Linked DNA regions of Homo sapiens: regions 1, 3, 4, 5, 6 and 7 are each linked to region 2. The links are contacts of gene promoters, found by promoter capture Hi-C in blood cells and fetal thymus (Javierre and others, 2016). All regions are on one chromosome and are shown on one strand. The core of a region is centred on a gene start or on the middle of the fragment in contact, and the rest is flanking DNA. Distances in the headings are between cores, read along the strand shown. Region 1 overlaps RORC (RAR related orphan receptor C). Region 2 holds the start of TUFT1 (tuftelin 1). Region 3 has its middle 7.6 kb from the start of THEM4. Region 4 has its middle 7.3 kb from the start of TDRKH-AS1. Region 5 overlaps THEM4 (thioesterase superfamily member 4). Region 6 overlaps LOC124904421 (a long non-coding RNA gene). Region 7 overlaps S100A10 (S100 calcium binding protein A10).

What was found. The method cuts DNA at HindIII sites, captures the fragments that hold promoters and counts their contacts. A CHiCAGO score of 5 or more calls a contact.
Region 1: a contact is called between a fragment that was not itself captured here and the fragment with the promoter of TUFT1 in region 2, in 7 of 17 cell types (M1 macrophages, M0 macrophages, erythroblasts and 4 more). The highest score is 10.6, in M1 macrophages.
Region 3: a fragment that was not itself captured here is called in contact with the fragment with the promoter of TUFT1 in region 2 in 3 of 17 cell types (M2 macrophages, erythroblasts and M0 macrophages); the score reaches 8.0 in M2 macrophages.
Region 4: a fragment that was not itself captured here is called in contact with the fragment with the promoter of TUFT1 in region 2 in 13 of 17 cell types (M1 macrophages, M2 macrophages, M0 macrophages and 10 more); the score reaches 10.3 in M1 macrophages.
Region 5: a contact is called between a fragment that was not itself captured here and the fragment with the promoter of TUFT1 in region 2, in 1 of 17 cell types (M2 macrophages). The highest score is 5.3, in M2 macrophages.
Region 6: a fragment that was not itself captured here is called in contact with the fragment with the promoter of TUFT1 in region 2 in 1 of 17 cell types (M2 macrophages); the score reaches 5.9 in M2 macrophages.
Region 7: a fragment that was not itself captured here is called in contact with the fragment with the promoter of TUFT1 in region 2 in 1 of 17 cell types (erythroblasts); the score reaches 5.3 in erythroblasts.

Annotation. Positions count from the first base shown.
Region 1 is chr1:151,814,624-151,817,602 of GRCh38, forward strand. RORC (RAR related orphan receptor C) reads right to left here. Exons shown (of 11, transcript NM_005060.4): 3 at 2,572-2,657; 4 at 2,041-2,182; 5 at 290-802; 6 at 1-72. Among named protein-coding and RNA genes, the nearest start is that of LINGO4, 11 kb to the left of the region's middle. RefSeq lists an enhancer at 318-818. The HindIII fragment of the contact is 5,382 bases long and covers 1-2,979 here.
Region 2 is chr1:151,539,026-151,542,280 of GRCh38, forward strand. It overlaps TUFT1 (tuftelin 1), which reads left to right and starts at 1,284. Exons shown (of 13, transcript NM_020127.3): 1 at 1,284-1,401. The coding sequence starts at 1,342. RefSeq lists enhancers at 29-545, 1,061-1,576, 1,577-2,091. The HindIII fragment of the contact is 3,648 bases long and covers 935-3,255 here.
Region 3 is chr1:151,915,612-151,918,573 of GRCh38, forward strand. No RefSeq gene overlaps it. Among named protein-coding and RNA genes, the nearest start is that of THEM4, 7.6 kb to the left of the region's middle. The HindIII fragment of the contact is 3,893 bases long and covers 1-2,962 here.
Region 4 is chr1:151,796,414-151,799,614 of GRCh38, forward strand. No RefSeq gene overlaps it. Among named protein-coding and RNA genes, the nearest start is that of TDRKH-AS1, 7.3 kb to the left of the region's middle. The HindIII fragment of the contact is 189 bases long and covers 1,602-1,790 here.
Region 5 is chr1:151,893,535-151,896,617 of GRCh38, forward strand. It overlaps THEM4 (thioesterase superfamily member 4), which reads right to left. Exons shown (of 6, transcript NM_053055.5): 2 at 1,474-1,660. Among named protein-coding and RNA genes, the nearest start is that of THEM4, 14 kb to the right of the region's middle. The HindIII fragment of the contact is 652 bases long and covers 1,115-1,766 here.
Region 6 is chr1:151,931,366-151,934,726 of GRCh38, forward strand. The region is part of intron 1 of LOC124904421 (a long non-coding RNA gene); the gene reads right to left. Among named protein-coding and RNA genes, the nearest start is that of THEM4, 24 kb to the left of the region's middle. The HindIII fragment of the contact is 2,951 bases long and covers 413-3,361 here.
Region 7 is chr1:151,987,717-151,990,861 of GRCh38, forward strand. All of the region lies in intron 1 of S100A10 (S100 calcium binding protein A10), which reads right to left. Among named protein-coding and RNA genes, the nearest start is that of S100A10, 4.6 kb to the right of the region's middle. The HindIII fragment of the contact is 1,753 bases long and covers 521-2,273 here.

The DNA.
Region 1 (2,979 bases), core at 1-2,500, 280 kb after region 2:
GCCGCAGCAGGTCCTCCAGCCGCAGCTGGCATGTCTCCCTGTAGGACTTGCAGACGCTCTGCACCAGGTGCTCTGGGGCCGGAGAAGGAAGGCATGGCTTGATCTCAGCCAGCTCCTACGCCTACCCATGCAAGGGCACTTCTCAGCCTGGCCTATCCTGCTCCGCCTCCTCCCTCCGCCCCTCGTCTGGACCCCTCAATTCCCTCAGGCGCATGTTTGATTGATACGGGGTACTGGTGGAAACCCCTCCCTCATCTCTACCACCCTCTCCACCTCCCCAGCTGCTCACCTATCTCTGTCAGGGAGGCATAGGGTGCCTCCGGTGTGCTGCGGAAACTGGGGCTGCCGTAGCTGTCTGGGCCCTGTCCCAGTTCCCCAAGCCCAGGATGCCTGTGTTCCTCAAAACGAAGTCCACATCGGTCAGGGGTCAGCTGGCTGCCTGTGCTATAGAAGCTCTCTCTGCCCTCAGCCTTGCCCCGCTCAGGGCTGTATTCAAGGTGGCATGAGGCCCCATTGAGCCCTGCCTTGGCCAAGTTGTTGGAATATGAGGGCCCAGAGCCTGAGGCTTTCAGGAGGCCAGGGGGACAGGCAGAAGCCTCAGGCAGGTCAGGCGAGGAGCCCAGGGGCAGCTGCCCGTCTGGGAGCCCCAAGGTGTAGGTGAGGGTATCTGCTCCTTGGGCCCCTGCTGGAGGGGTCTTGACCACTGGTTCCTGTTGCTGCTGTTGCCGCTGCTGCAGCTGTTTCTGCACTTCTGCATGCAGGCTGTCCCTCTGCTTCTTGGACATGCGGCCGAACTTGACAGCTGAAAGAGGTCCAGGGACCAGGGGTTTATGAGGCAGGAGAACATGGCACAGGGCAGGGTCAGGAGGCATTTGGTCATTAAAGGATTAACTTGCTGCTCTCTGAATGGCTGACTCCAAGCACAGCTTCTCTAGCCTTTAGGGAACTTATGCTCAAGACCCCGTCCACCTCTCACTCTTGTTTGCTTCTGGGGTCTGTCCAGTCTGCCATTTCAATCTGCTAAGCAAAATCTTCTAAGTTCTAAATCAGATTTGAATCATGGCAGAATTCAAGCAATGAGTCTAGGCTGGGGATTCTGGCCTCCAGATCTTGGGGCTGGGGGTGGTCGAGCAGAGGGCCTCAAGCTGTATTGGGGTCACCTCGCCTCTTTGGGAGGGTCGGAGGAAGAGGAGAGCTGAGAACACAGGTCTCCCTGTGGTCAGGCCTGCAGGCTCCCTGGTGACCTAGATACTCACCACAGCCCAACCCGGGCTCCGCGGCTTGTTTCTGAACATCCTCTTCTGCTCTCTCTTTCCTGCCTTTTTACTCCCCCCGCCACCCCTCCCAGGTGTAGGGGCACAGCCCCTCGCCCCGCCTGCCCCTTTGCACCCCTGCGTGCTTCCTTTTGCTTTGTTATTTTGGGCACTGAAAAGTGCTGACGGGCTCCTTCTGGCTCCTCATCACCTCATGCCCCCCCAGCTCCACCCTAGGCTCCTTCTGTGGTGGTGGAGGTGTGCAGGGAGACTGGTGAGGAGGTGGTGGGTGAGGAGGGTGGATAAGGCACCAGGAACACCAGCCCTCCCCCACGACCACCCTCTGGTTGTTCTCAGGCCAATTCTGTTTCCATTCCTGGCTATAGTCCTGTGTCCAAGTATGGGAATGGGGGATTAGAAAAGGAGATAGAGCTAGAACTACAACAACAGGGTAGCAGGGGAAGGTGCCAGAGCTGCATGGGAGCTGGGCCAGAGGGCAGCAGAGTGAGGAGAATTCGTTCCAAGTAAGAAGAGATGAAGAGGTATGGGACCTTGGAAAGAGGATGTTTGTTCTAGCAAAGCCTAAAGTTGGGGACTCCAAAGAACTTTGATGGGGGTGACCCATCCATCCCTGGAGGGGAGGAGACAAGGGGTTGTAACGGGGAGGAATGGAGAGGAGACCAGAGGATGGGCCGTCTTGCAGGTTAAGCCTTGTCTAGCTCAGCAGGCCAGGCTGCCCCTCTGGAGACACCAGGAAAACCCCAGGGGGCTGTCGACTTGGCCTCACCATCTCGGGACATGCCCAGCGCCAGGCATTTCTGCAGGCGGCAGTGCTGGCATCGGTTTCGGCTGGTGCGGTCGATGGGGCAGTTCTGCTGACGGGTGCAGGAGTAGGCCGCGTTACAGCGCTGGCTCCGGCGGAAGAAGCCCTGGGGAAAGCAGGTGGAGGGCAAGACTGCTTATCCTGGTCAGGCCCAGCTCACTCACAAAGGCCTCCAGCCCACAAGCTCTGGCAGCTTTTCTACATCCCACGACCTGTCAGTTTTCTCTCTCCTCCATCTATTTGTGTAATTGCAATTTATCCTGTAGTCATTTCCCCAGCTTAAGACAGGGCCCTGCCAGTGTTGAGGGCCCTGCAGGAAGGCGCTACTCAGGCATTTTCCTGGCTGCCCAGGAGATCATCCCTGGAGTCAGAACAAAGGCCATTAACCCCCTTGTTTATCTCTAAGGAGACACTGTGTGTGTGTGTGTGTGTGCGCGCGCGCGCGCTTGTGTATGCACACGCACACATGCATGCATACACATGCCTATGACTCACCTTGCACCCCTCACAGGTGATAACCCCGTAGTGGATCCCAGACGACTTGTCCCCACAGATTTTGCAAGGGATCACTTCAATTTGTGCTGGAAGAGAGAAAGAGAAGTAGGTCAGCCCAGGAGGCTTTTCTGCATTCAACCACCATGTACCTGGGCTGCAGATACAGGTACCTGGTGCTTCCACTACTTCTCCAACCAGCTCCAGCTTGCTGTTTCCCTCTTGCAAAATGGAAGGGGAAGTGAAATGCCAAATGCTTCTCAGCAAAGGGTGTGAGGAAGCTGTGTTTGTTTCACAGAGGAGGGGAGTGTGGAGGGGTGGCCGGGAGTTGTATCAGTGCTATGGAGGCAGAGAAAGCAGCTGCAGAGGGGCCACCTGCTCAGCCCTTCGAGTTGAAAAGCTCCAGTTGCC
Region 2 (3,255 bases), core at 34-2,533:
AGCGATTCTCCTGCCTCAGCCTCCTGAGTAGCTGGGATTACAGGCGCGTGCCTCCACACCCAGCTAATTTTTGTATTTTTAGTAGAGATGGCGTTTCACTGTGTTGGTCAGGCTGGTCTCAAACTCCTGACCTTGTGATCCGCCCACCTCGGCCTCCCAAAGTGGTGGGATTACAGGCATAAGCCACTGCGCCTGGCCAGCAGTAAATGCCTTTTTGAGGGTTAGAGTAGAACAGACCAGAACTGGGTTTTATTCCCTTGGGTCATAGTGATAACCCCAGCATTCACTTCCCAGGTAGAAAAATCCTCATTCATTCCTAACTGACATAGGACCCAGTCCCTAACTGGGAGGTAGGGACATTTCTGCTGTTCCTGCCCTAGTGTTGCCTTGAAGAGGGAGCTGGCCCTTCACTAGAGCCTATTGCCAGGTATAGGAGTACTATCCCTTCAGGAGTGGGTCAGACCTCCTCCTAAAGTATTCTGTCTGCTGTCTCTGTGGACCACAGCCAAGTGAAGAAGCCATCTGCCAAGAGCAGCTGGGCGGGGACGAAGCTCCAGGGTCCTGCTTGGCCAACCCTCTCTTCTAGGCCCTCAAGATCCCAGCCTAGGCTTGGGGAGAAAATGCAACTGGAAAAGTCAAGGCTCATCCTTTCTCACGAACACAAATTCCTTTTAAGGCAATGTGTCCCGCCTCTCCCAACTATATAAGGGCAGCGTCAGTAAAAGAGCTTCTGCAAAACAAGCCCCACCCAGAGCCTAAGCTGACTGGGCCTCCTGGGCCTCTTGCCAAGGAAGTGCACCTGCCAGACTGGCTTAGGCCAGTCTGAGTGAGCTGGACCTTGGTGCCTGCCTTTCTGCGGTGGAGGAAAGGTTTACTCAGCTCCACAAAGCCTACAGGTGGCTTACGTATAGGGAGAGGAGCATGTATGGAAGGAAGCTTTTGCAGGTTCCAACTCCTCATCCACTAGGAGCAGGCAGGGTGATTCCCTCTGACCAACACTGATCTTGGAAAGATGGAAAGCGACAAGATTAATGAAGAATGTGCAACCACATACTCCAGATAAAGCTGTTCAGTTAAAGCAGCCCCATGTCGCTCCCAAGCCCCACCTTTGTGTAAATCTATGCGAGCACCGATGGGGCATGTCCCAGACCCATTGGCTCCGCCCACCTCACCTCCTCGCCTATCGTTAGTTCTCTGCGAAACCGCGAACTGGGGGCGCGGCCTATCTTCAGCCCCGCCCCTGATGGGCCTATACAAGGGGGCGGTTCCGCGCGCGCCCGCCCAGTTGGAGCCAGACAGCGGGGTGGACAAGTGGCGTGTGTGCTGCGACCCCGAGGGAAGATGAACGGGACGCGGAACTGGTGTACCCTGGTGGACGTGCACCCAGAGGACCAGGCGGCGGTAAGAAAAAGCGCTCTCGCTGTCTTCTCCGTTTTGTATTCCCGGTTTCTAAGTCCGCCCCTTCCGTGCCCCGCGCCGTGTTGGCTGACATCACCTGGTGCCCGGCTCGCGCGGTCAGCCCTGCGCGGCGCTTCTCTCTTTTTATTCTTTTGCCTGCGACGGGCAGTGGGAGTCGCGGGGTGAAGACTCCTTTGAGGCTGGAGGGTTCGGGGCGTCCCTGCCCTTTGGTAGGACACTGCGGCTCCTGCCTGGGACTCGGCGCCGGCGAGCCCGTGCTTGGGCCGCGGGTCTCAGGCGTCTTTTGGGCAGCCACATTGGGTCATAAGAGAATGAGCTCAAGCGACTGGGTCCCTGAGCGCCTTTGGACGTTGTGTCCTGCCGAGGAGGCTTAGGCTTTCCCGTGGGTCGAGGGTCCTGGTGACCTCCGAGGCCCTCCAAAGAATTTCATCATGGTGCTTTGGATGATCAGTAACAAGAAAAATGGTAGAGTAAATTACAGGGCTTGGACTGGAGGGCGGGGGGCAAGTAGGGGACGGTAGGACTCAAACTATTCCGAGATTGGCTAGGGACTCTACCTTTCGCTAAGGGATAGGGCTTTCCGCCCGGGGGTCACCTCTTGTCTTGGATTTCTCCTTCTTCCCCCTTGTAGTTCTCTTGTTTTCCTCCCTCTATCTGCCTGCCGATAGCTTCCTGGGACGGTGTGTTAGTTTTGCTTCCGTCTCCAGCCGCCAGGCCCTGGGATAGTGGAGGAAGGGGATGCAGAACCCGGGCCGAGAAGGGGAGGGAAGTGACCCAAGCGAAGGCTTCTGGACGGGGAGAGGGTTGCGGAGAAAGGGGGCGTTCTCCAGTGCAGGCTGGTCTACCCCTCTCTCCTCTTTCTCTGGCTCCCAGTCCCAGTTCTCCCCACCCTAGCTGACCATATGGTTTTTCCTCTCCAGAGGCTGAGGAGGGTAATTTGTGGCTGAGTGTTTCTAGGCTCTTTTGGGGAACTTAACCCAGATTAGGTGTGTACTATTTCATCAATTTCCAAGCTATTGTGGGTGGGAGTGAAATGAAAACTAAGGTGATGGGGAACTTGTGTATCATCCCCCCTCCCACATCTGACTCCCTTACTCTCTGCCTGCCTCATCCTGCTCTTGAGGTAGAGCTAACCCAACTGCAGCTAGATTATGGCTCTTCTTCAAACTCATTTCAGGTTTAGAATACAGATGGTCATTTAGTTCTTTTCCCAGTCCCCTCTCCATTTCTGCCTGGGCTATGAGTGTTTTTGCCACATTAAAATACAGATGTTGCTATTGGCCAACCCCAGTTGCCCAAACCCCATTCTTCTGTAGCCTGCCACATCCCCAGCTATGAGACTCTGAAGAGATGGAAGAAATCTATCCATTATGTGTCAGCCACAAGTCCTACTCCCTGCTCTTTGTTTTTAAGCGACGAGTGTCTTGCTATGTTGCCGGAGCTGCAGTACAGTGGCTCTTCACGGGTGCAATCATAGCACACCACAGCCTTGAACTCCTGGCCTCAATCCTTCTGCCTCAGCCTCCTGAGTAGCTGGGACTTCAGATGCACACCACCTATAGCTTCTCTTCCATGCTCTTGCTCTCTCTTTTGGAATAGTTGAGGGAAAAGGGTATGAGATAAATAAAGGAGAGGGATGTTTGGGCTGCTTTTTGCTTGCTTGCTATATAGAAAAGAGATCCGGAAAGAAGTCTAAGACCAAGTTGGCACTGGCAGTGTTAATGAATCATTAACCTCTACTATTTTTTTTCTTTCTTCCTTTCTTTTCTTTTCTCTTTTCTTTTCTCTTTTTTTGAGACAGGGCCTTGCTCTGTTGCCCAGGCTGGAGTGCAATGG
Region 3 (2,962 bases), core at 222-2,721, 380 kb after region 2:
GCAGGCTGGGGCTTCAAGATCCCAAAGGACTCTATTCTCCTATATGTGTTTAGAGATCACTCTGGAGGAAATGGAGAGCTACAGGGAGACTGTTACTAGAGGACTGGCATTATCTGATTGATATTTTAGAAGGATCATGATAGAGGCTCCGGGGAAATTGCATTGGAATCAAGGAAACACTTGAGTGCTTTGTGGGGATTGATAGAGTGAGGGGATTTGGTAATGGATGAGGCCAAGGGCAGGGGAAAGAAGGAGGACTAAGATGTTATCCAGGTTTCCTGGACTACAAATTGTGGAGGTACCCTTTAGAAAGGGAAAAGGAGGAGTATGTTTAGGGGCACAGGGAAGAAAAGTGAGTTCTTTTCTGGATACGTTGTGTTGAAGGTACCGCAGAGATAATAGAATAGTTTGGAACTTAAGATAAAGGCCTGAAAGTGTCCTTTTTTTAGAACACAGAACATATTAGAGACATCAGTAAGAGCAGCTGAGGTGGGGAGGTGAGGCTGGAGGAATGAGTGGGAGGTAAACATACAAACAGGAGTAGACTGACTACTCTTCAGACCTCTTATAGTGAGAAGAGAGGACAGCAGCCAGAGGTGAAGAAAGGATTGTTTTTAAAGAAACATGGTGCTTTCTGTTTTTTAAATACTGAGAAGAAAGTCTAACGATCAAGTTTGATGAGACTAAATTTATGTTGCAAACATATGAGTCTTATAGTGTTTATCTTTGATAGAAATGGGGGTGACTGTAAAGAGAATAATTATGTTTCTGAGGAAAAACTATAGTACACCTGTTATTAGGTTTTACTCCTATTCATTGTTTTCAAATTTTTATTGTCTACCTGTATACCGGACTGGATCCTGTATTCTAGTTTCCTTCAGTATCTGGCTATAATTTTCCAACTAAGAACAAAAATTGCTCTGTTCCTAAAGCCCCAGAGCTGAAGCTGGACAACTCAATGTAAATTTTAAGGGACAAGCCTCATGCCCGATGTGTGGACCACACCAAGTTCACCAAACTGCCCGATGCCATAACCAGAGACATTCAAACTACAAACCCACATGAGTTGTTAACTTTATCATGGGGAGTTTTTCTCAAGACTGTCGGAACAGCTGAGTGCAATGGCTCATGCCTGTAATCCTAGTGCTTTGGGAGGCTGAGGCAGGTGAATTGCTGGGCCCAGGAGTTTGACACTAGCCTGGGCAACGTGGCGAAATCTCGTCTCTAAAAAAAATACAAAAATTAGCCAGGCACGGTGGTGCATGCCTGTAGTCCCGGCTACTCAAAAGGCTGATGTGGGAGGATGACTTGAGCCCAGGAGGTGGAGGTTGCAGTGAGCTGAGATCATGCCACTGCCACTGCACTCCAGTCTGGGTGACAGAGCTAGACCCTGTCTCCAAAAAACAAACAAACAAATAAACAAACAGACAAAACTGTCAGAACAAGACCCTGCCATAATGAGACTATTATTTCCCTTAATTTTTCCTTGTTTATGCCTATCTTTTTTGTCTGGCAGAATAATGCTATCGTTAGAATTTCACAATCAGTAGCTTCTGTGGGTGACTTGCAAATTGTCATTCCATACTTTAACTCAGTCATGAGATTTTCTATTAGCTGAACAAGAAGGAATCATTGCAGTTGCTAACACTTCTTGTTGCACAGGGATAAATACATCAGGTATCATAGAGACTGGGCTGAAAAAATAGACTGGCTACTTGGTTAAGATCGATATACTCCTCATCTGGCTCATTCTTCAATCTATTCTATTTTAGTTGGTTTGTTTCATGAGGACCCTAGCTAAGGAGCATACTCCAGACTCTTGATAATATCCTCCTGAGAGTAATAATAGTAGTCTGTCTGTTGCACTGTATGCTCTCAAAAAGTTTTAAATGTTTGTGGCCGGGTGTGGTGGCTCACACCTGTAATCACAGCACTTTGAGAGGCTGAGGTGGGCGGACCACCTGAGGTCAGGATTTCGAGACCAGCCTGGCCAACATGGTGAAACCCTGTCTGTACTAAAAATACAAAAATTAGCTGGACATGGTGGTGCGTGTCTGTAGTCTCAGCTACTCGTGAGGCTGAGGCAGGAGAATCGCTTGAACCTGGGAGGCAGAGGTTGCAGTGAACTGAGATCACACCACTGCACTCCACCAGGGTGACAGAGCGAGACTCCATCTCAAAAAAAAAAAGTTTTAAATGTTTGCATACAGCCATCTGTTGAATGTCAAATAGTCTGTCTTTGGCTGGAATAACAAAAAACTCAAAGAAATGCATGATGATGAGGACACTAACCTATGAATGATGTGTTGAGACTGGAAACCTAAAATGATGGTAACTGAGACTAGTGCCAATGCCCTTAGTTTTGGTCAGGTTCTCACTTGAGCCTTGACCAAAAGGGGAAAATTGTTAAATAAAAATTATAGGAGGCCATTGTTTTGGACTAAGCTCCTGCACTAGGCCCCAGCAGATCAGAATAAAAATCAAAATGGAGCCAGTCATACTAAAGTTTAATGTAACCAAACCAAAACTAAGTTGTTATTTGATCTTCCTAGAAATCAGGAGAGAGAGAACAGCTTAATTTCCCAAACGGGCATGATAATAAAGTTTCGTCTGCCCTAATCATTACCAAAAAATGTAACCTGATGTTAACAATTAGTTATTTCTCCATTGTTCTGTTTCCTCTTCTCACTGTACAAGGAAAGTAACTGTGAAATGAGTTATCCGCTCTTTGTTCTTTGTTTCTGCTTTCTTCAGCCCTTCTGTCTGTAAAACCAATCTCCTCTGCTCAGCTCATTGGAACACTATTCTGTTTTATAGAATGAGGTTTTGTTTTATTCTAGAATTGCAAATAAAGCCAATTGAGGTCTTCAAACTAAATATTTTGGAATTGTATCCTTTGACACCCCCATTAAGCACTTTCTATATCTAGCCTCTGCCTGTTTCAACATACTCAAACCTCTTT
Region 4 (3,201 bases), core at 446-2,945, 260 kb after region 2:
ACTGACTTCTTACAGCAAGAGTTCCACCCAAAGTCTCTTGCCTCTCCCTCAGATGGGTGCTGGTGGGAGAAGGGGACAGGGGAGGAGAGAATGATGGAGCATTTTTGTGTGTTTTCTTGCTGGGCCCATTGTAATACCTGCTCTTACCTGTGCTAACATCCACTTTGAACGGTAGTCCTTCTCAGCCTTTTCTCTTTGCCTCTAATGGACCCTGGGGAGCAAAGGTGGCCTGAGGCCTCAGTTTCTGCTGCAACCTGTGGCTTCTTATAGCAGAATTTTTAACCTATATTCTATGGAGTCTGTGATGGCTTCAGAATAACTGGATAATTTACAAACATTTTTGTTCACAGCTTGCATCAGGGATTCTCAGAGGGATCTGTGACTCAAAAAAAGTTGAGGATCATTGCTTAGCCGGGCTCTCATCTCCTGAATCAGGGATCCAGCACAGCACAGGAAATAGAAGTCAGAAATAGAGAAAGATTGTATGGGGGAAGGAAATGTGAAGTGCTGAGATGGTGCCACAGCATCTTTGGGTCCAGAGTTCTCTCTCAGCTTAGGTAAGACCATGTCTGAGATGGAAGAGAGAGGGGTAGAAGGAGAGCAGGATGGAATGTCCTCAGAAAGGTTCTGTCAAGCAGGGGTAGGCAGAAGGTAGGCAGAGTCAAATTCTTCTCCAATCTGAAGTAGCTCACAGATTGTTCCACCAATCTGTGCAACCTCTCTCTAACCTAGGAGGTTGTTGAGGTTAGAACCCAGAAAAGAACTAGGAAATGTGAAGCCTCCATTTCAGAGAATCCTTTGCTGGAAGCCAGGCATTTCACTGAAGTCCATTTACTCCCTGGAATTTCTGCTCCTTTCTATCAGTCCCTGAGGCAGAGGCTGTAAGGACATTGGGAGAGGGGACTGAGAAGAAAGAGTAAAAACAAAGAAAAACCCCAACATCCTGAATCAGGTGCATTAGAGTTAATGAAGAATGTAAGGACCAATAACTTAGCCCAGTCCCCACTGAAAGTTCAGAGTGGATGCATTGGAAGATTTCTCCTTTCTTACAGGTCGTGTCCTGCAACTGAAAGGCCCTGGGAGAGAGAGCCGTGAGGGCATGGCAGTGAGGATGGCAGTGTGGTGGAAAGGGGGAGTTTTCAATCAGACAGCCATGAGCTCAAATAGCTAGTTACTATTTACTAACTAGCTCTGTGCACTTGAGCACTTACTCTCTTTGACCTTTAGTTTCACCAGCTAAGATGCCTCTCTACTTTATAGGGTTGATGTAAGGATTAAATAAGAAAATATATATAAAGCCACTGACATAGAATAGGCCCTCAATAAATGTTATTTTCTTCTCTTTGAACTGCTGTCCCACCCTGGGCAGAGCCTCCATTAGATTGTCCCCATGATGTGGTACCATACATCCCTGCACATGGGCCACAAAACTTCTGCATACACACCACCCACTCATGTCCTTGGCTGCATTTGCACACTCATCAGCACACACACAGCAGCCTGTGCCATCACAGCTGAGCTGAGGGCAGTCTTCCCGACAGGTAAGATGAGGGACTGGCATGCTAACGCTTGGACAAGCTGTGGAAGTGCTCATCATAGTAAGCTTGTTTCCTGAATGGGCTTCACCCCTCAAAAGTGTTCTGGTAAAGCTGTGAAAGGAGACTAAGGGGCTGTGGTGGGACTAACTCCATAGGCATTTCCTTGAGATTAAATGTGTTTCTTGAGGGATACTTTGTCCACCCACCACTGCCAAGGAGACCTTAGTCTATACGCCAGGTTGCAATGTCTGAAGCTTTGCTGTCCAATATGGTAGCCATTGGCCACATGTGGCTATTGAATGCTTGTAAAGGTAGGTGGTACAGCTGAGGAATGGAATTTTAAATTTGTTTAATTTAAAATTTAAGACAGAGATTCGATTCAGTTATTGGAAAATGTTTTATGTTTGAAAAAACTTAGATGTGTGAATCCACTTTCTCAACAGTGACCTGTATGAAATATAGATTTTTCTGGTGAAAATTTAGTAACTGAATTGCGATGTTGAGATGTACTGTAAGTGTAAAATATACACTGGATTTTAAAGACCTAATATGAAAAAATGTTAAATATTTTATGATTGATTTTTATATTGATAATATATTGAAATGATAATAGTTTGGGTATATTGGGTTAAATAAAGTAAGTATTTAAATGTATCCGTTTCATTTTGATTTTTTAATTTAGTAGCTACTAGAAAATTTGAAATTACATGTGTGACTTAGATTCTGTGTCTGTTGGGTAGCTCTGCTCTGGAGACTTTGAGACTTCAGAGACCTTGGGCAGCAGCATGTCCCAGCACCAGACAGTCATCTGTTCCCCAGAGCGTCAGGGGCTTCCCAGAGAAGATTTCTCTGAACAGCATTGCTGCTTCCGCATTGCAGAGAGGGCAACTAGAGTGAGAACCTTCAGCGTCTGACTCCCAAGTCCCAACCTAATAAGCTGCTGGTGGAAGGTTATGGAAAGGAGCGGGAGGGCTGTGCCCCAGGAAATCTGTCTGGTACATTATACACTAAAGAAGGGGAAGTTGCTGGGATGCTGATTGAGTTGTGTGTGCATGGTGGGTGGGGAGGTTGCAGGCTCAGGGAAACTCGTTTCTCAAGCAGGTCAGTTTCTCCAGCCCCACTCTCCTGTCTGCCTGGTTCTCACATTCACCTCTGGTACTACCCCCATATTCCTATCTCTGCCCCACTAAAGAGCGGCCTGCCTGTGAAGTCCAGCTTCACCTCCTCAGTGGCTCTGAGTGTCTCATCTGTCGGGCAGTTTGAGCTGGGAATCTTCTAATGAGTGGAGTCTCCTCAGAGCAAGGACAACAGCAGCAGGAATCAACTAGAAAGCTCACAATGCTTGCATCTGGTTTGGTGTAGGGGTGGGTGGGAGGAAACTAAGGACGCTGGGTAGATGCTACTGCGCAGAAAGGCTCCCTAGGGCCACGTGATTCTTCCCTTCTCAGTCCCTCCTCCGACTCCTCTCCTCTCCCTGTCACTCCTCCCTTCCAGTGATGCTGAGGCTGTTGCTCTGTTCCTTGAGCTTCCAGCATCTCTACTTCTTTTTGGGCTCTGCTTTGCCCTCTATTTGAAGCACAGTCAGTGGTACTCAGCAGTTTCACCTCCTACTCCACCTCCCCATCTGGGGGTCTCTGTAAATCAGTGACCTCTACCCGGAGAC
Region 5 (3,083 bases), core at 191-2,690, 350 kb after region 2:
ATGGAATGCAGCGCACAAATGGAAGGCTTGGTCTCCCTAAGAGTGTGGATGGTTCACTCACAGCAGGAAGAAGCAGAACATCAGGCACAGATGCAGGGGGGAGGATATGTGAGGCAATGGGAGACTGGGAGTTCTCTTCTGACTGCTTTTATTTTCTCTTAGTGAGATAGGAAGCGAGACCAACTGAGGGTGAGAAGGGAAAGTATTAGAGGCATAAGAAGAAAGAAAAAGGCAGAAAATACTCATCCAGTAAGGGAGGAGAGTGAATAAACTAGGGAAACATGAAGTATGGTTGTTGGGCAATATTGAGAGCCTTCTTTTTCTCTTTTTTTTTTTGTAGGGGGGGAGACAGTCTCACTCTGTTGCCCAGGATGGAGTGCAGTGGCGCGATCTCAGCTCACTGCAACCTCTGCCTCCTGGATTCAAATAATTCTTCTGCCTCAGCCTCCCAAGTAGCTGGAATTACAGGTCCCCGCCACGAGGCCCAACTAATTTTTTTTGTATTTTTAGTAGAGACGAGGTTTCACCATGTTGGCCAGGCTGGTCTTAAACCCCTGACCTCAAGTGATCCGCCCGCTTCAGTCTCCCAAAGTGCTGGGATTATAGGCATGAGCCACGGTGCCTGGCCCAAGGGCCTTCTTAAAAGTCAGTTAAAAAAAACCAACCACCACCTAAAGATGTGTTTGGATGATTAAAAGATAATGAGTAACTCAGAAATATCTGTGAATGATTCAAATATACTATAATGATGGATATCTGTCATTACACAGTTGTTAAAACCCACGGAAAACATAATACGAAGAGTGAACCCTAAAACAAACTATGGACCTTAATTAAGAATAATATATTAATATTGGCTCATCAATTGTAACAAATACACCACAGTAATGTGAGATGTTAATAATAGGAGAAATTAGGGGTGGGGAGGGGATAAAGGGTATATGGGAACTCTCTGTACTTTAGGCTAATTTTTCTATAAAATTATAATGCTAAAAAAGTATATTAGTAAAAAAACACAGAAGGATAGGAATTGCTATGTGTGTGTTTTGGGTGTTGGGTGGGTTGCCCTGGGGATTTAGATACTGGGAGATGTGGGTATAACCTGAGTGTTCTAAGCTTCTTAGGGTGATATAACCAGATATGGGATAAAGGGTGAAATGAGATTAGATGACAGCCTCAAGACGGAGAGGTGATGAGGTTGTAGGAGGGTGGAAGCTCTCTGGGGCCCTTTCTTCACTCTTGCTAATGGTGATAAGAATGCCAGGGTGGGAGCAGTCTTATTCTTGACAATAGGCTTTATGCTCTCCAATCTGCAAAATTTATTGTGATTTCTGGTCTATAAAATTGGTGACTATAGAACCATAATCCTGCATTATATTCTTTCTTTTTTTCAGGTAGTAACTAGTACTTCAATCTGTTCTTAGCTTTATATTTGATGCTCAGATATATTAATGGGAAAGTGGCTGTTTCTACCAAGAAAATGGGTTTTGAAGTCTTGAATCCATTCAGTAGGTGTACGTTTATATGAAGGCAAACGTTTCCAGGAGCCGTCTTCACATTTCTTCATAAACTGGTCAAAGAGCAGTCTTAGGTCCTTGTTCCAGCTGGGGTTGGGGACAGAACAGTCCTTAAGAATGACTTCCTCAGAAGAAAATGACCTCTAAAAGACAGAAGAAAAAGAAAAGTAAGTAATGGGAGGTGCATTCTATTTCATAACATATTCTCCCAATTTCTAAGATTATCTTGCTGCTTTTCTTCTCCCCATAAGCTTGTCACTTCAAAATGGAAGGGAATTTCAGGGATCATCTGGTCCAACCTCCTTGGGAAAATGAGAGACTGAGAGAGGGAAAATGATTTGCTCAACATCACCCAGCGAGCTATTGACAGAGCCAGGATTATGCTCAGGTCTGCTGATTCCATTCTTTTTTTCCAGACTTTAATCAAGCACAGGTAAGCCCAGCACACTGGAGATGGAGGTTAAGAACAGGCATTATCTTCCATGTTGAAAGTGCTTCCAGTGGCTATGCACAGGAAGTTAGGGGATAAGGGAGAAGTACTCATCTAGGATTAGGGGTTCAGGAAGGGGTTCTTTGACTTGAATATTGATTAGATAAGCAGAAATTAGCCAGCTGGAAAAAGTATTACAGGAAAAAAAAAAAAAACACTGGAATATAGTTTGGATGTGTGTTCCCGCTCAAATCTCATATTGAAATGTAATCCCCAAAGTTGGAGGTGGGCCCTGGTGGGAGGTGAATGGATCATGGGGGTGAATTTCTCATGGACGGTTTAGCACCATCCTCCTCGGTACTGTCCTCATGATAGTGAGTTCTCATGAGATCTGGTTGTTTAAAAGTGTATAGTACCTTGTGCCTTGCACTCTTGCTCTTGCTGTGTCCATGTGAAGTGCCTGCTCCTGCTTTGCCTTCTGCCATGACTGTAAGTTTTCTTGCTTCCTTTTTTTTTTTTTTTTTTTTTTGAGACAGAGTCCCACTCTGTTGTCCAGGCTGGAGTGCAGTGGCGCAATCTTGGCTCACTGCAACCTCCACCTCCTGGGTTCAAGTGATTCTCCTGCCTCAGCCTTCTGAGTAGCTGGAGTTACAGGTGCCGCCCCACCACACCCGGCTAATTTTTGTATTTTTAGTAGGGATGAGGTTTCACCATGTTGGACAGGCTGGTCTCGAACTTCTGACCTTAGGTGATCTGCCCACCTCGGCCTCCCCAAGTGCTGGGATTACAGGAGTGAGCCACTGTGCCCGGCTGACTGTAAGTTTTCTGAGCCCTCCCCAGCAGCCAAGCAGATGCCACCATCATGCTTCCTGTATAGCCTGTAGAAATGTGAGTCAATTAAACTTCTTTTCTTTATAAATTACGCAGCCTCAGGCATTTCTTTATAGCAATGTGAGAACAGCCTAATGCAGTGGGCAAAAGAGGCATGAAACAGTTTTGAGGGGCCTTATTACAATCATATGAAGTAGGTACTATTTATTATCCTCATTTTGCAGATGATGAAATTAAGGCCTAAAAGAAGTTTGGCATTATTAGGGTGCAAGAATAGGGGCAGATGGCTGCAGAAATGCATGTAA
Region 6 (3,361 bases), core at 638-3,137, 390 kb after region 2:
ACAAGAAGTGCCAGCAACTGCACAGATACTTTTCTGTTTAGCCAGTTAGTAATCTAGAGCCATTCTACTATTTGGCATAACTTTCACAAGATAATTTATTTATTTGATTTATTTTATTCTTTTTTGAGATGGAGTCTCACTCTGTCACCCAGGCTGGAGTGCAGTGGCATGATCTCGGCTCACTGCAACCTCCACCTCCTGGGTTCAAGAGATTCTCCTGCCGCAGCCTCCTGAGTAGCTGGGATTACAGGTGTGTGCCATCACGCCCACCTAATTTTTGCATTTTTGGTAGAGAAGGGGCTTCACCATGTTGGTCAGGATAGTCTTGAATGCCTAACCTCAAGTGATCCACCCACCCTCAGCCTCCCAAAGTGGTGGGATTACATGTGTGAGCCACCGCGTCTGGCGTGGAAGCTTGCTTTCTGAGATTCCAGGCTGTTCTCTTTAACTTGGATAAAGACCTTCTCTTTGGATCATCTCTCTTGTCCTTGTACTCCTCATTTTTAAAAACTGCATTCCCTGTAGTTTCTCCCTAGCATGGGTCCCTGTCTTGGAAGGGAGCCTTGGCAAATGAATTTTGAGTTCATAGGGGCCAGACTGCTCCAGCCCTCTTAAGTCCTTACTGTGGGCCTCTTGTACTTACCTCCTATTGGAGAGATCAGATCTTTCCCTTTTCAGCTGTGTCTTCCATACCTATTACTGTTGGAGAGTTCTCAGGTCCATCAGACACTGTCTCCATTTCTTCATTCTTCTTCCTCACACACTGATGCAGAAACCATGCAAGTTTTGTGACTGCTGGTTTGTCCCCACTTGTTTGTATTTTGAGGCTCGTGGGAATACTTTGTCATTTGTTTTTTTGTAAATGTCTGTAGGGTTTGGTTTTGCTATCTAGTTGAGACTTAGCCTGTTCAGGCTGCTATGACAAAATACCTTAGAGAGAGTAATTTACCAACAACAGAAATTTATTTCTCACAGTTGTGGAGGCTGAGAGGTTCAAGGTCAAGGCACTGGCAGACTCAGTGACTAGAGAGGGCCTGTTCTTCATAGGTAGTGCCTTCCATGTGTCCTCACATGGCAGAAGGGGTGAACAGGCTCTCTTGAGCTTCTTTTACAAGGGCACTAATCCTACCCACAAGGGCAGAACCCTCATGATAGAATCCTTTCCCAAAGGCCCTACCTGTTAATATCATCACCTTGGGAGTTAGTTTTCTATATGTGGATTTTGGGGGCAGGGGAGTCACTAACATTCAGACAATAGCAAGTTGCTCGTTTGTTTTTGTGTTAGGATTAGGAAAGATTGAACACCTATGCTGTTGCCCCTGCTGCTGCCATCTTCCCAGAATCTACTATGCTACAGTGTACTTTGCTTTTTGTGTGTGCATATATATATATATATATATATATATATATATATATATATATACACACACATATATATGTATATATGCTTTTGTGTATATATATACATATATATGTGTATATATATATACATATATATGTTTAAATTAATAGACTTTATTTTTTAGAGCAGTTTTAGTTTCACAGAGAAACTGAGTAGTAAGTACAGAGAATTACTATTTACCCCTACCCTCTTCAAACCCAAACAGCTTCTTCTATTATCAATGTCATGCGTTAGTGTAGTGCATTTATTACAATTGATGAGCCAGCAGTGATATTTTAACCAAAGTCCTTAACTTACATTAGGGCTCATTCTTTTTGTTGTATAGTTCCATAGCTTTTGACAGCTGTGTAGTGCCATGTGTATTATATTTCTGTGAGCGTTAAAAAGAAGAATGACCCTCTGCTTAGAAGCGGCTTACCTGTTTCTGGTACAGACACCTTAACACATGGATTTATGCAAGGGTTTTCATGGAGGGGATTCTATGTAATACAACAAATAACAACCTCAAAGAATCCTAACTGTAAAGACAACAAAAGTCTCACAGGGCTAAACCATGTAATGTCTCTTAATTAAGCTGATGGCATCAAATTTCAGTGAAAGAAATTCAAAGGGAATGGAGGCGACCCAGCAGAGGGGGCAAAACAATATAGTACAGTTATTCAGCTTTCTGGTAATCTGGCCTCAGAGAAACATGTACTGTGACTTATATATACTTCAGATAATCTTGCATAAAGTTTTTTGATAGATATTGAGAGGCAGCACCAACAATATAAATGTTTTCTTATTAGACATTCTTTCTCAAATGCAAGCCATTGTTTTGCTTGAGATTCTAAGTCTGGGTTCTCTGCAAGAGGAGAGATGGGCTTTAAACATGGGTAATAGTCCACTGACAACTGTGACATTTCACCAGCTAGTGTAGAAAGGCATTGGGAATAGCACCAGATTTCTTGTAGCCTTTTTTGTTTTTGTTTTTGTGTGGAACTGTTTGCAGCTATATGTTCCATAAAGTTTTAACCTTTCCAAGTGGTTTTAACCTTTCCAATCAGACTATATTAATAGTAACTGTTTTCCATTTATTTAAAAAACTTTTTTCTTCCATTTCTTTTGAAATTACCTTATAATACCACTGACTATACACAAGGGGGAGATCACATAATTTGTTGACAATTTTGATCAGTATGTTGTCACCAAAACTGCACATTAACCCGAAAGAGCCAAAAGAGTGTGTATAAGTTTCCTCTTGTTGCTATAACAATTATTACAAACTTAATGGCTTAAAGCAACACAAATTTATTATTTTACAGTTCTGGAGGTCAGAAATTTGAAGTGGGTCTCAGGGGGCTGAAATCTAGGTGTCAGCAGAGCTGTACTCCTAGAGGCTCTAGGGAAGAATCTGTTTTCTTCCTTTTTCCAGCCTCTAGAGGGAGCCCACATTCTTTGGCTTGGTCCCTCAGCCAGCAATTGTAAAACTACCTCTGCTTCTGTCGTCCCATTTTCTGTAACTCTTCCGCACCTTTCTTCCTTGCACCCTACACCCTTGTTATTACATTGGGCCTGCCCATGTAATCCAGGATAATCTTCCCATCTCAAGATCCTTACTTAATCACATCTGCAAATCCCTTTTGCCATGTGTGGTAACGTATTCACAGACTCCAGAGACTTACTTGGACCTTTTTGGGGGCCCATTATTCTGACCTCCACAAGTGTATTTAGATAATTATCTATTCTTCCATTTATTTTTGTCCTGAATCTTCTGGATTTTTGGTTAGTAGGTAAAATTTTTGACTATTATAAATTTCCTTTGAGTAATTAGGAAGATTTTATACATTTTAAATTATTTCCTGGTAAACTTTTAGGCTGATATTCGTCAATAAATGAACAGGTTATATCTATCTCAATACCTAACAGTTTATTCTTTAAGTGATGACTATTATCTAATTAGGGACTTGGAAGAACTTC
Region 7 (3,145 bases), core at 147-2,646, 450 kb after region 2:
TTTTTAGTAGAGATGGGGTTTCACCGTGGTCTCGATCTCCTGACCTCGTGATCCGCCCACCTCGGCCTCCCAAAGTGCTGGGATTACAGGCGTGAGCCACTATGCCCGGCCTATATGTATTCTTTACTAAAGCTCTGAACTTGTTATTTACTGCAATAAAGACAGTTGCATCTCTGGCAGTAAAATACAGTTGCTCTACCCAAACAGAAAACTACTCAAAGTCCATTGTCTAGTTCACTTGAGAAGCAACAAGTAATACTATAACCTAACTCATTTGAGGGCCTCCTATGTTTTTAGTGACATTAGACAGATGAGCTGCTCTCACAGTCTGGGGTACAGTGGGAAAGCAAGAGCTTTCATCATGAAGCGTTTATAAGAAAGGAAAGGAAACATGTCAGATCATTACATTTGGGTATAATGAACTAGGGGTATATGTCTCACAAGACCCAGTACGTGGTACTTAATAGAACCTCAGTGAATTTTGGCTTAATTGGAAGGAATCATTTGGCGAGAACAGATAAGCTTTGGCTAATATCACCTAAAATCACTACTGGATAGGAAACAGGTGAACGTGAATGGAGACTGTAATATAGCACTAAAAAATAAAAATAAATAATCACAAGAATAGGCTTTGAGCTTAGATTGAAGGGCTGGCAAATTCCTCTGCTGAAGAGCTCTAATGGGAACCTGAGACATGCTTTGGTCTGGTTCCTATCTCTGAGAGATGCCTGTTCAACACTGATTCTCAAATGCTATCTTTTACAGAGGAGAAGGTGGAGTGGGTAAACATGAGGATTGAGCAATTAACACTTAAGAATTGTAAATTCTACCCCTTAATCTCCAGAAAAGTATGGGAACCAGCAGGCCAAAGAATGCTATAAATCAGAATCTGGCATGAGTCATCTGAAAGGCAGTTAGTTATCTTGGAGAGAGCTGCAAATTAATGCTTCAAGGTCTGCTGTGAGATGAATTCCAGGGGAACCACACCCTTTTCCTTCTCTTCTGACACAGCTCAGATCTGGCTCATCCCCCATCCCTCATATGGGTTTCAGATGGCAGTGGGCTTACAGAGAGTCTGCCTTGCCTGGACTGGTACTCCAAGTCCAGCAATTTAAGAGAACTGAACTGGGCGAGTCACCTCTGGGAGAAGGACGTGGGATCCCACCCCAGTTCTTAAATAACTCAGGAAAGGAGTCAGACACCACAGAGGTTTAAAAATACCTGTGCTCAAGTTCAGAGCAGCAGAGCACTTCAGGATCAATTCCCAAAGATCCCAGAAATTGGAACTGGGTGGGGTACCTAGTTTACTTTTTTCAGATGACAGGACAGAAGGAAAGTGCAGAATTAAGAAAGGGAATGCAGCAGGGTAAGGACCTCTAAATTTTAAAAAGGCTAATTTTAGGAGGTTCTAAGAAATACAAGTTGTCAGCTGAGGAAATCCTGGCCACCCTTGAGTATCTTCTTCAGGAGAGCAAGGTGAGTCTACCTCACACTGTGTGAGTGCTTAGGTCTGAAGTCACTCAGTCGCATGCCTCTCTTGCCCACAGCCATTACGAAGTGACGGAGCTTCCTTCTCTGAAGTTACATCCTTCTCCCACTTGGTCTTCCCCTCCCCTCCTCCCCCAGCGGTTTTATTCAGTGGATGGATTGTGAATATTGCAGCCAGCTGACTCCCTGTGTGTCCAGTAGGCCTTCTGCAATAAGGATGCAGAGGAGGGAGTAGCCAGGAGGTGAAAATAGCATTGAAAATCAGTGGAGAAGCCCTTGTCTCCTCAGCAACCAGTACCCCAAAGGGCACTGACCAGGGCCACAGCAAGGAACTCTGTTTTGGGGAAGGAGTTGCACACTGGCTTTAAAATAAGACAAAGGAAAGGGGGAAATGTTGTGATTAAAACTCTGTTCTCTTGGCTAGAGGATGAATCATGTAACTCTTGTCTGAGTGCAGCCAATGGTTGCCCAACTGAGTCAGCCCTGCCTGGCCCTCCGTTCTTGGGTGGGGCTTGCCTGGGCAGGGCTGTCTGCAGCACTGCTAGCTGCCAAAACTGAAGTTCTTCAGGGACTTCAATCTGGCATTTCCACCCTCACGTAGCCACTCTGCAAGCTCTATTCCTGGACAGATGTGGGCTTCCTGCATCCTGGTTAGACACATTTTGACAGGAGGGCCTTGGGGCTGGGGCTGAGGGGCTGCAGTGTCCTCTCTATCCCCAATAACGTACTCTTGCACCTGAAACATTCAATTTCATTTAATTGTTTACTTGTCTGCCTGAGATTTAAGCTTCTCTTGATTAAGAACTACAAATTATTCTGCTTTTATTCATGGAGCACTATATAACTGTTATGTGCATAAATGAACCACACAATCCCTTGGGCAGTAGCTGAGGTGCAGGTGTGATTACCCAGGACTAGGCTGAAAGCCTTGTAGCTCAGAGCTCAGGAGGACGATGTGAGAGCTGGGAAGGGCCAGGAAAGGGGCCCCAAAAGTGTTCAACTATGAACGGAACAGTAGATAGAGTACACAGGAGTGCACATTCCATACGCAAAAGGAAAAATATGTGTCCTGCTAAACAGGTCTAGTCAGAATGACATGACTGTGCTCCTTCTCTTCTAACACTTGCTATTTTCTCGTGTTTCATTCATCCCATCTTCTACTTTTTGCTTTTCTAGTGCTGCTATCTCACTGCTGAGCTCCACAGGATAATAACAGCCTTGCTGTCCACTCACCTTTTATTGAAGTATTCTAATCTGATGCCTATACATGCCCTCTACATGTTTGTCTGAGCAACAGGTCTTAAGAAGGGAGGCGGAGACATCTTTCTCTGCATAGTTTTCTCTATGGAAAACAATTCTGGACTCCACAAATTTAGTTACCTTAGGAGGAATTCAATTTTCCATTTTTGGTTCTCCCTCCCTGAGCACCTACTTTGAATGTCCCAGACATGGTGTTAGGCATGAGGGTGTTCACACACACATACACACATGCACACACACACAAAGCTCTCCATGGTGCTTGCCTTTGAGGAGTTCACCAGCTAATGGAATACTATTAAAGCATTTGGCCTGAATTCTAGTTATTTGTGTTTCTGTTTCTTTCCTCACTAGGTTGCAGGTTTTTTGAGCAGGGTCCCAATAGCCAGTGCCCCAGCCC